Linked DNA regions of Homo sapiens: region 1 is linked to region 2. Evidence: promoter capture Hi-C in 16 types of primary human blood cells and fetal thymus (Javierre and others, 2016). All regions are on one chromosome and are shown on one strand. The core of a region is centred on a gene start or on the middle of the fragment in contact, and the rest is flanking DNA. Distances in the headings are between cores, read along the strand shown.

Region 1 (6,083 bases), core at 1,829-4,328, 2.5 Mb before region 2:
GAACAGCATGGTAAAGACCCTCCCCCCACCCCATGATTCAATGATCACCTACCAGGATTCCCCCATGACACATGGGAGTTGTGGGAATTACAATTCAAGATGAGATTTGGGTGAGGACACAGTTAAACCATATCAACTGCATTCAAAATGAAAGAAGAAATTACAATGATGTCAATAAATAAAAGAAGATTGATATAAATGTAACATAAATTTACAAAAACACTATTAGAAGTTTAGGAATGTAAAAAGTCTTGCCCAACTTGACAAAGGGCATCTATGTTTAAAAACTTTCTAAAATACTACCATAAATAGGCAAAGTTTTTGGAAAGCATTCCTTTAAACATCAGGAAAAAGGCAAAAATTTCCACTTTACTCACAACAATTCAACATTGTTCTGTAGATCCTAATCAATCAATAAAATAATTATAAAATTTGAATTGTATGAATTAAAACTGTGATTACAAATCATAGTGATTGCAAATCACTAAATTGTCTAATAGAAAACCCAGAGCACTAAAAACATAATAGTAACAATAAATATCAGAGACTATCAAGATAGCTAAATTTAATTAGTAATTATGAATTCATAAATATGATTAAAAAGAGATACCATTTATAATAGCAGTAGAGCATCAAAGATTAAAGCCAGTAAATTATAAATACAATTTAAGAAATAATAAATTATTTAAGAAGAATATGATATTACATTTAAAGAAACCAACATAATTGGAAAAATCTTATAACAATAAAGAGAAATCATTACTTTCCCCCATAATAAGGGCTAGATTTTATCCAATTTCAATGAAAACATTAACAAATAATTTAAATTTGAGAAGATGATTTTAAAAGTTACATAGGAAAACAAATGTTTAGGAGCAACCATGGCTTTGTTGTAAAAGAAAAATTAGAAAAAAAGTAATCGTGCTATCATTTATCAAATCTTATATAGACATATTAATTAAGGCACTGTGAAAATAGAAGTAGGATAAACAAAATAAGCAATAAAAAGAAGACAAATAAGAATCCCAGAAATAGACCCAAACATTTATGAATATTTTATATAAATGGCATTACTAAGATAAGAAGGAAATATTTAATAATGCTGCTGGGAAAAGTTGATAATTTAGATAGAAAAATAAAATTATGTCCCCACAAGACACACACACACACACACACACACACACACACACACACACACACACCAGATAGATTTAAAACTGAAATGTGAAAGGCAAATTCTTCAAATCTGAGAAGATAATCACAATGACCTTTGGGTTACATGACTCAAAAAATATTAACTATAAGGAAAAGGAACATTTCAGAAAATTTAACTATATTAAAATGGAAAAGAGGTTTTTTATTAAAAGAAAGAAAAACTCAACTTACAAACTGAAATAAAATAGCTGAAATACATATAAATAATAAATGATTAATATTACAAGCATATAGGAGGATTTAAAAAATTAAAAAGTTATTAAAAATATGACATAATATAAAATCTTAAAAAAAGGAGCAAAGAAATAAGCAGATATCATGCCTATGGAGGCAGGCTTAAAAAACATTAAAAGGTGTTCAGCCTCTTAAGTAGTTATGGAAATGAAATTAATGCTGTTATGAAATAGCTTTTTATACTCATACAATGACAATAAAATACAATATCTTATACTATTATGTTTTTGTGATCATATGGATTGATGAGTAATACAACAGAATGCTGATGGGAATGTAAGTTGGTACAACATCCATTGTACAGTTGGGTACAATTTTTTAAGGCAATTTTACAGTTTTGTAAAACAGTTTAGTATCATGTTATAACACAGAACAGTCACTTAGGCTGTGACTCAGCAATTCAATTTATTTGTGCATTATCTAGAGACAAAATATTGTGTGTATTTTTGTATATGTAGAACTATATATACATACACAAAAAGTGTCATTATGGCATTATTTATAATAGCAAAATTGTTGTTTGACAGAAGAATTGATAAGTGATATGATATAGTCACCCAATGGATATTATATAGCAGTCAAAATAAATGAACAACTACACACAGCTACATGAATAAGCTTTTTGTAGAAGACAGCATGATGCAATTTTTAGAAACCTCAAACACAAATACAACTGACTGCATTGTTTTTACATATGAAAGGGAGAGATGACTTATATTAAGGATATTATAAACAAAGTTTAGAATTTTGATTGTTTTGGGGAAGGGAGGAGGTAAAAGGAAGAGCTAGCAAAAAAGGATATAAGAAAGTGAAAGTATTTGATATTGTTCTAGCTCTTATTAAAATGCTAGGTTCACAGTTAAATGATCGATTCAATCAATTATTTTAATTTATAATGAACATACATATTCAAATGAATATACCTTTATTATTTGCATCTATTCTATATATATAATGCACAATTTTTAACTTTAAACAAATGAAAGCATGTGAATATTGAGAATTTGAATATATTTATGAAATATTGAGAATTTTTTTTTTTGAGACGGAGTCTCGCTCTATTGCCAGGCTGGAGTGCAGTGGCACGATCTTGGCTCACTGCAACCTCCACCTCCAGGGTTCAAGCGATTCTCCTGCCTCAGCCTCCTGAGTAGCTGGGGCTACAGGTGCATATCACCAGGCCTAGCTAATTTTTGTACTTTTAATAGAGACGGGGTTTCACCATGTTGTCCAGGATGGTCTCGATCTCTTGACCTCGTGATCCGCCCTCCTCGGCCTCCCAAAGTTCTGGGATTACAGGTGTGAGCCACTGTGCCTGGCTCCAAATATTTAGAACTTGAACAATATTTATCAACATCAAACTACATGAGAGCCATTATTTTATTTTCCTGTTTTCCCTATTTTTGATTGACTTTGTTGAGAGTTTTCAGCATATTTCCTTGTTTCATATACTGTTGTCAAATAGGATAAACTGTTTCAGACACAAAAGCTGTGTCAAATAGCTTGAGCATGAATTTTGTAGTATTTGTTAGATTACTCTTAAAATTGTCTTTGTTTTGGACAGCTGGGTATTTAAAATTTTAAGAATTCATCATATAAGCTGGAAATATGACATTTGTAAATATGTTAGGAAATAATCACCCCAATTCATAGAAATACCATAATAATTAAAAACACATCTGATAAAGCACAACTTAATCATAATGGTAAATCTGTAAGAAAATAACATGCTATTTTCTTATTTGGATGGGTTACTGTACAAACAAATATTAAGCTATGACAAAATGCCAGACACACTCACGTGGACCTTGCCTGGTGGATTATGCAGTAGTGTGCACCTTAACTGTTAGTCTGCCTCATTGGTACAATTAAACAAGAGTAGACATGTTCAGACTTAAAACAAAAAGTAGTTATAGAATATCCACAACTTTTAAAATCAGAACACAATTTCAAGGAATTCAGATATATGCAGCTGTGTTAACAGGAGCCTTATTCTGCATCAATCAATTGGTATATTAATGATATCAATTGATTATATAAATCAATTGATAAAATCATTCCCATAATTGAAATCATTGATGTTCTCTAACATGTCCATATTTATGATATCATAATGTAAATATACATATTGCATATTAGTTTGAAAAGAGATCAATAATGAATACAATTCAAATACGATTTTCAGAATTCTCTTTCTTTTCTGAAGAACATGAGGATCTTGGTTAAAGCCACAGAATGCTGCTTGGCTGCAGCCAGGGTTAATTGGAGGAGCTTCTATCCGTGAGCCTGAGGCTAACACGTTGAAGTCGGACTGGTGGAGTTAGTTTCCTCAGCTCATACTCTGAAGGAGGTGAGAGACTTGAAGATCACACTATCCTGGTCATATAGCCTTGTTCATGCTGGGGCCACACAAATTTATACATTTTGCAGGAATATACTTGTAGGACCATACTCATTTATTTGGAGGATAAATCCTTGTAGGAATATACTTGTAGGAATCCTTGTAGGAATATACTCATTTATCTGGTAAATATACTCATTTATCAGGTAAAAAACAGAGGGAATGCTAGTTTGGAAATATTGATATAGTTGTTAAATCCATGCTTAAAATGAGTCTATTTGCCCATGGAAATGCTTATTGAAGCTTGCTGTCTATAGCCAAATATTGAAGAGAATCATGAGCTTTAATAACTATAGTAAACTGTCTCCTATTTCAACGAGGTTTTTAAATTTTTTTAAACATCTACTACATGCCCGTCACTATTTCTTTTCTTTCAGAGAAGTTCATGCTCTAATATAGTATACTTAAGAAAAACCACGTATTCCATTTAAAGGTCTTTTATGTTAACTTTTACGTTTTCTTTAATTATATTGAAAGGATGCAGTACCTGACAAGTTGTAAATAGTGACATCGAACAATAACATTACTATTTTAATAGTATTTAATGGAACATAAAGCTTATAATAATTTGATATCCACCGTCCTTCATTTAAAAGTAGATGAGCAAGCTCTTCTTTAACACAGACAACTTTCATTTTCTTTTTCTCTTTGAACTCATATTTCAATTTTACTTTCTCCCCATATTTCAATACTCATGTAGCATATAAGTTTGTAAGTCTTTTACTGATAACTTCATCATACCTATCGAAATTAAAATGAGTGTATTCATTGAGATTTTTACATTTGTTTTGTTTCCTGAGATGTTGTACGTTATAATAATATTTTTGGATTGGGTTAAAGTATTATTATAATTACTATTATTATCAATAATAGTAATTATTAACATATTTACAGTTTAAAATATTTAACATATTTACAGTTTAAAGATGGAATTTATATGTGATATAATTTTATAATTATGAAACAAATCTATTTCTTAATGACATAAAACATTATCAAAAATTGCATTTAAAAAAGAATACAGCAAAAAAATTAATTTTTGAGAATTATCAAGTTATTTTTTTGGAAGTAGAAAAGATAATCGTATTTAAGAAAAAATAAAATGAGAATTGACTATAATTGGAAAAACTTTTATGATACGATTTGAATTTTTTGACTACCTTATTGAATAATCCACAGTGAATCTGAAAATAATAACATAGAAAGTTTGTCCTTATATATTATCTAATATAATGTAAAAATGTAAAAGTCCCAGAAAACTTTCTAGTTATTTGGTTGGCGCAAAAGTAATTGTGGCAAAAATTGCAATTACTTTTGCACAAATCTAATACATTTAAAAATCCACACGACTAACATATTTCTACTTTGGCAAGGCAGATCTGTTTTGGTTTTCCTCTGATACGATTTGGATCTCTGTCCCCGCCCAAATCTTATGTTGAATGGTAATTCCCAGTGTTGGAGGTGGGGCCTGGTGGGAGATGATTGGATCATGGGGGTGGTTTAGCACCATGCTTTTGCTGCTATTCTCCTGATAGAGTTCTCATGAGATCTGTTTGTTCATATGTGTGTGGCACCTACCCCCTCTGTCTCTTCCTCCTGCCCTGCCTTTTAATGGGTTCCTGCTCCCACGTCACCTTCTGCCATGATTGAATGTTTCCTGAGGCCTCCCCAGAAACAGGTGTTACCGTGCTTTCCATATAGCCTGCGGGACCGTGAGCCAATTACACCTCTTTTCTTTATAAATTACCTAGTCTCAGGTATTTCATTATAGCATTGCAAGAAACGAGTCTCATTCTCTCAGGGGTCTCTGCCTCAAAAGGAATGTTTTCTTTGAAGATACTGAGGAGATGGAGGAGGCAAAGAATATAAATGTATTATGTTCTTAGTACTTCTACATACCAGTATACCATATATCTTAATTCACATACACCAAGATACTTTTTTGTTACTAAGTTTTATATCTGCCACTTCACCACACCCCACAGAACATAGGTTTATGGGACCTTAATTAATAATCTTTAAAAGAGATCATGTTTGTTTGGTTCCTTAGAGGTTTTCACATTCTGGGCCAAATCACCTTAGTAAAACTTGTAACAGGTAAGATATGTAAGTTTCTCTAATAAAGAGGGAAAGAACTATTTGTGAATTTTAAGATACTTGCAGACAAACTTTTTTAAAGAGATTTTTACCTATGGAATTTAAAAATCTGGACAATGTCTCCTCTGGATGTACA
Region 2 (6,649 bases), core at 3,295-5,794:
AGATGTATTGGCGTAAAAATAATAAACGATCTGTAATCAAAAGAAATGGCAAAGCCAAATATAAATCAGCTGTTAAGAATCATTTTCAAATTAGATTTATAGATGAGAAATCTAAAATATACTACAGAGCGAGTCATTAAAAAAAATAAAGAACTCAAGTCTTAAAATGAGAGACTAAATATAACCTAATATACACTGTAACATTTACAGGGTCATATACTTATTAAATTCCATGTTTGTGTGTTATTCAAAAGTTTCAAGTATTTCCTAACTGTTCAAGAAATAAAAGCAGTTTGAGATGTTAAATTTAATCTAAGAAGCTTTCATGAAACCATGGACTAGAAGTTATAATAATCACCCCTTAGAAACCAAAATATTTGTATAAAAAATTAAAGCAAGATATATTTTACACTTTATAGCAAAGATTTTTAAAACAGTAATACCTAAAATGGGAAAGCCCACGGAAAACAAAACCTCTAACACGCTATAAAAAACAATGCTTTCTATCATCCTAAATGTACATGTATGTGTGTACCTGTGTATGCAGTTAGGTATATATCAATGGAAAAATATCTAAAGAATAACAGATTCTCTCTAGGTGGTATGAGGACAAATTTTTTTCTAATTTGTAGTTATCTATAGTGTCTGTATTTTCTACAATGAATTTTTATTATTTGTACACATTTTCTAAATTCTCAAAATTTAAAAGCATTTGTCATTATGAAAACTGAATATGCTAGTGCTTCTTGTATCAGAAGATAAAATTAACTATAATTAACTGTAATTTTATCAGAAGATAAAAGGATAATCAGAAGATTACAGTTAATTTCAAGTACTTAACTTCTGTGAAAATGAATTTTCTCTTTATAAGGAACTTAAATTCACTGGTATAAGGATGGACTTTGAAGCCAGAAAGACATGCAGTCAAATTCCAAATGAATGACCTTGAGCAAGTTTTCTTATCTAAAATCATAAAGGAGTAACGGCACCTTTCTGGTCTGATAAAAGGACTCTATTAATGAATATGGTAAACCCGTCATGGCACCAGCTCAGTAAACCTAGTGCTCAATCCTTTCTCAGACTCTTGTTAGTTCATACGTAAAATTTGTCAGGAGTTAAATGAATACCCTGGCTTATCAAATCTGTAATTTGAGTATCTCTGACCAGATCTATCTGAAACACCACATAGACCTCTTAAAATAGTCTCTCAGTGTATTTTCACCTTCAACATCCACTGACTTTCTGAGACTCATACTGGCTTTGACCTTCATTCCTTCTAGAACAGCGTCCCCCAACCTTTTTGGCACCAGGGACTGGTTTTGTGGAAGACAATTTTTCCATGCAACCTAGATCCCTCACACGTGCAGTTCACAATAGGGTTTGCACTTCCCTGATAATCTAATGCTGCCGCTTATCTGACAGGAAGTGGAGCTCAGGTGGTAATGCTCACTCACCCATCGCTCACCTCCTGCTATGCAGCCTGTTTCCTAACAGACCACAGACTGGTACCAGTCCATGGCCCAGGAATTGAGGACACCTGTTCTAGAATACATCCATAATGGTTAAACCAAAGCTATATACTTTAGCTCTAAGCTGCATTAGAGCTAAAAACGTGCATGCGTAAATATACAAATGTATACATATACATACATATGTGTGTATATATAAATATATATATAATTAAACTCAGATAACACACATTACTTTTATTAGGCTCCACATCAGAAGTCTAAAGAACACATTTTAACTGTTAACCATATCATTACTGTAGAGAAATAAGCTATATTTACCTCGAATTGCTTTCGTGATGATAAAGGATGCACCATGTTTTTGGTTGCCTCTAGGCTGGAATTTAAAACAAAAAACACTTACATTTGAATCTTCTAGTAGTATTAGACCAGTATTACTTATACAATATGTAAACTTATTTTTATTTACTAATACTCAGAGTTTTGGGCACAGGGAAGCAGTGTCTTAAAACTACTTAAAGACTGGATGTTCAGGTGCAGTGGCTCACGCCTGTAATCTCAGCACTTTGGGATGCCAAGGTGGGCTGACTGCTTGAGCCCAGGAGCTCCAGACCTGCCTGAGCAACGTGGCAAAACCTCATCTCTACAAAAAATACAAAAATTGGCCAGGCATGGCGGTGCATGCCTATAGTCCCAGCTACTTGGGAAGCTGAGGTGACCCAGGAGGTTGAAGCTACGAAGCTACAGTGAGCCCTGATCATGCCACTGCACTCCAGCCTGGGTGACAGAGTGAGACCCTGCCTCAAAAAAAAAAAAAAAAAAAAAAAAAGTAGACACAGGACGCGGGACAATAGGAGAAAAGTGAGCATAGCAGAGCTACAGGCACATGTCAGGACTAACCTTGCAGGAAAGAACAAGGATTGAAGCTGGAAACTGTTTCCAAATCAAAAACCAATCCAAAGACAAGAGAAGTCAAGGCCAAAGACCATACTGGTTGCCAGTTCAGCATACTCTATTGAGGCTGTAAGTTTTGCTCACAGGAAAAGTGGTCATATCTCCAAGGCCAATTCATTGACTATCTGTTGTGTATCTATACAGACAATGCTACTAACAAAACATACACAGATACGTAATTGCTATATTAAATAATTCCATTCCATAAGTATAGACTGAACACACCGTGGGTAGGTTCATGACGCTAGGCACTGCATAAGATGCACTAAAGTGCTGTCAAGAAAAGCACAATGGACATACAGTAAGTGTAGACAGATTTTTTTAAAAAACACAGAAAAGTTATTTCACTCAATAAACATGAATTGATTGTTGGATTCATGCAAGACACAATTTGGCCCTGGGAAGAGATATAAAGATGAATCAGATGTCTGCCCTCCAAGAGCTTATAATTCAACAGCTGAAATCAACAGAATGCAGAAATCGATAGAATGCAGAAATCAATTGAACTCCCCCACCCCCAACACACAAACACAAAACAAAGTGCTAAGGGTTTCAAAGTAAGTTAATTCTGTGGTTACTTTTTTGGAATCAATTTATGGTAAGCATTCTGAAACATTACTGCAATTAACCAATGAGTGTTAAGGAGTGGAAACTTATCTAACCAGCTGCCTCAGCAACAGCTTCCTAGCTGCATAACCCAAAAAATATTCACATTAAGACAAACTAAGTACTTGAAATTAAACAGTAATATATGCAGATCTCTACCCGTCTACAAAATAAATTATTCATGATAAGCACAAACTGCAGTGGGAAGGAGGCTACAGAGGAAAAAAATACAAACTTTGGGCTGAAAAATGAGTCGTTTCTCCAGCAAAGAAACACTCAGAAAAAATGTAAGATAACTCACATGGGCTGGACTACATAATCTTTAATAAAGGTTCTTTTCGATCTGGCTGCTTCCTCTGGGTCTAAAACAGTAACTGGCACGTGTTAAGCACTCAATAAATATCTGTTAAATAAACATGGATCCAAAAAATAATAATAATAAAAAATAAAATAAAATAAACATGGATCCATGGTTCCTACTCTTCATCACAGACCCGGGAGGCCTTCACTACCAAACAACTGATAATCCCAAGATCCAGTCCATAAATTATCAACCTCTATAACCCTTCTGTAGCGGAGATCCCAATCCCAGTCAGCAGCTCTTTACTCTGCACTTCCGTGGCATTTTGCTCACATCGCTAACTATAGCGCATAAAACGCTAGGTTATGAAAAACGTTTACGGGACTGTCTCCCCTCTAGACGAGAAGCTCCACGAAAACATATTCATCTCTGTATCCTTAGCACCTAGCACAGCACCTGTGACACCGAGACAGACGAACGGACACGCACACCCTTATTAAATGCTCTTTTATTGAAACACACAAGACCTGGCGCGATCCAGCCCCCAGTATGGGTAAAGGCTCAGATTCTGCGCTCTGCACCAGCCTGGCAGATGCTGCAGACTGTAAGGTCCTGGAAAATTCTCCCATCGCAGTTGAGCGTCGGCCCAGACTAGCCCTAGCCAGACCGCGAGAAGGGACCACTGAGGGTCCAGATAGGAGAAAGGACCCTCGAGTCCAGCGCTGTGCCTTCCCCTCCTAATACAGAGAGCGACACTAACAATCCCCTCTCCTCCCAATACAGAGAGCGAAACTGAGAACCAAAGTGGGATCGTACGCTCCCCAGAGCACGAAGTTCCAGCCCCCAACAACCGAATTCTGAGCCCAGGAAGAATCTCAGGGACCACCACCCCACCCCGCCCTAGACCCCCGCTAGCCCAAGGTGCCGTTGCCAAGGCGACCGCACAAGCCAACCGGCCCTAGTCCCCCACCCACCCGTCTCCACTCCCCTACGTGGCTCCTGCTACGTGGCTCTACCCACGAAGCGCCCGCGCCAAGCTGGCTGCTGCTGTAGATGGGCCTGGTTCACCTGTACTTCAGTCTCCGGTGGCCACTCGGTGTTGACCAACAAGTCATAGAGAATCGTCTCCTCCTCACCCTCTGCAGTGCCTGGACTCAAAGCCGGCCCTGACTCGGGGGCCGCCATGTTCGCCGAGGACTCAGGCAGCGGAGGAGTGTCTCTACGGAATCCCTCACAGGACAAGCTTCTCTATCCGCGGCCGCTTTTGTTTCACGGCAAGGAAATGCTAGGTTAACCCTTTTATGAGTAGGAAGGACAGGGACTATTGCTTGTCTTGGGAACGACTTGTGTCCCGGTCCTGATACACTCCTTGTTCATTAATCTACATGAGATCGGCCAAGTCATTGAGCCTCTCTTATAACTCAGTTTCCATAAAACAGAAATGGTAAAGGTACCCCACTGAAATGCTAATGTTCATTTGTATATTCTTTGCCTAACACGTAGAGAGAGTTCAAACAGTGGTTTTAAAATAAACAACTAAAGTTATCCAATGAAAGGTAGCAGAGGAAGGATGCTACAGGAGCTCAGAAAAGGCAACGAAGGCCAGAGTCTGCAGGGATTTCCTGGAGGACGTGGAGCTTGTCCCTGCGTCTTTAACAATAGGCAGAATTTTAATCTACTGGAGAAGCATTTCAAGTAGCGGGAAATGGAATGAGCAGAGACAGAGGCAGAAATACAGAGTTGAAAGAACTCTTTCAACGTGTCGCCAGTGAGTGACGACTTTCTCAGTGTGGGAGTAAAAGAATTTACCAAGACAGTGGTAGATAAAGAAAGACAGATTAAAGAAAGTATGAAAGTTCGTTGCCAGGGAGCAGCGGGCCGACTCAGCAGAGGAGGAGCTCATTGCTAGGAAACAAAGGCTTGTTGAGAATTTTATAGACTGGAACTTGGAGTGATTGATAACACCAGGTAGCAGGGAGTTAACTTGCTTTTTTTTTTTCTTTCTTTCTTTTTTTTTTTTTTTTTTTGTCAGCTGAAGTGTTTCAGAAATTGAGGCATTTGAAGGTAAGCAGGAAGTTTGTGAGTTAAGTACGTTATCTGGGTAGAAGGGCCATATGTCCTGGGCCATAAAGAAAAGTAGACCTATGGCTTATTTGTTTCTTCCTTTTGTTTATATGTTTTGGACCATGAAGAAAGACAGACGTATAGCTAATTTGCCTTATCTCTTTGTTTTTCCCTGCTCCCACTAGCCTGCCTTTTTTTTTTTCCTAATTAGTACTCAACAAGACGGGTGAATAGAACCCAAGTTGAGAAAGGGTGTAGGGGCAATAAAGTTGAAATAATAGGTTGAGAACCCGCATGGAGGGAGCGAAAAGGTCAACCCCATTTGTTCATTCATTCATTCATTCAACAAATACCTCTTTGTGGACAGTTATAAGCAGAGCCTACTGTAACATGAATGAATATATACTGTACAAAGTATTACACTGTTTCACATCAAAAGAAACACAAATACTGAATATCCCTTGAGATAATTATATTCATGATATCCATCAAGATGCATTAGGCGGTGATGCAATTAAAAGCCTCTGCTGGGAAGCCTCTAACCAGCTCCCATTTCTCTCAAAGTTTAATGACCTCAAAGCCCTACGTCATCTGCCTGCTCCCCTAAATCTCACACCTCATTTCCTGCTCCCCCTACTACCTTCAGCCACACTGGCTCTATTTCTGAACACACCAGACACACATCAACTTCAGGAGTTCTGCAAAGCCTGTCCCCTCCACTTGGAAGGCTTTCTACCAGATGTTTACCTGGTTCCTCCCTTATCTCCTTCAAGTTTTTGCTCAAATGTCGTCTCTCTCTGAAGCCTACCTTGACTGCTCATTTTTAAATTTGCAATGACCATTCTCCAACTCCAGCTTTCCAGAGCTGCTCTATTATTTTTTCCATTACACTTGTCATCACTTAAATGGCTATACAGTATATTTGCTTATTATCTGTCTCCATTCACTAAAAGGTAAGCCATGCCAGGTGCTCTATCTATATGCATGCAAATGCTATATCCATCCCTGCTATATCCCCAGAATTTATAACAGTGCCTGGCATAGAGCAGAGGACAAAATATATATTATTTGTTGAATAAATGACAGACTTCCCAGAAAATCTTTTACACATTGTCTCCCCATAGTATTTCTCTGCATAGCAGCTGTGCCCTTCAATCAAACCCCTCATTGTGAACACCAGACGTGTCTTCTCCCTACCGCACAAGGCTGACAAACTGTATACCTCCGGGGAGCCCCGCCCACATTGCATGCGGTA

What was found. The method cuts DNA at HindIII sites, captures the fragments that hold promoters and counts their contacts. A CHiCAGO score of 5 or more calls a contact.
Region 1: a contact is called between a fragment that was not itself captured here and the fragment with the promoter of NBAS in region 2, in 2 of 17 cell types (M2 macrophages and total CD4 T cells). The highest score is 6.9, in M2 macrophages.

The regions. Positions count from the first base shown.
Region 1 is chr2:13,048,994-13,055,076 of GRCh38, forward strand. The region is part of intron 1 of LOC105373436 (a long non-coding RNA gene); the gene reads left to right. Among named protein-coding and RNA genes, the nearest start is that of MIR3125, 310 kb to the left of the region's middle. The HindIII fragment of the contact is 2,026 bases long and covers 2,066-4,091 here.
Region 2 is chr2:15,556,790-15,563,438 of GRCh38, forward strand. NBAS (NBAS subunit of NRZ tethering complex) reads right to left here and starts at 4,545. Exons shown (of 52, transcript NM_015909.4): 1 at 4,399-4,545; 2 at 1,791-1,845; 3 at 1-30. The coding sequence starts at 4,515. It overlaps LOC105373440 (a long non-coding RNA gene), which reads left to right and starts at 5,359. Exons shown (of 4, transcript XR_001739297.2): 1 at 5,359-5,394. RefSeq lists an enhancer at 4,335-4,744. The HindIII fragment of the contact is 4,253 bases long and covers 319-4,571 here.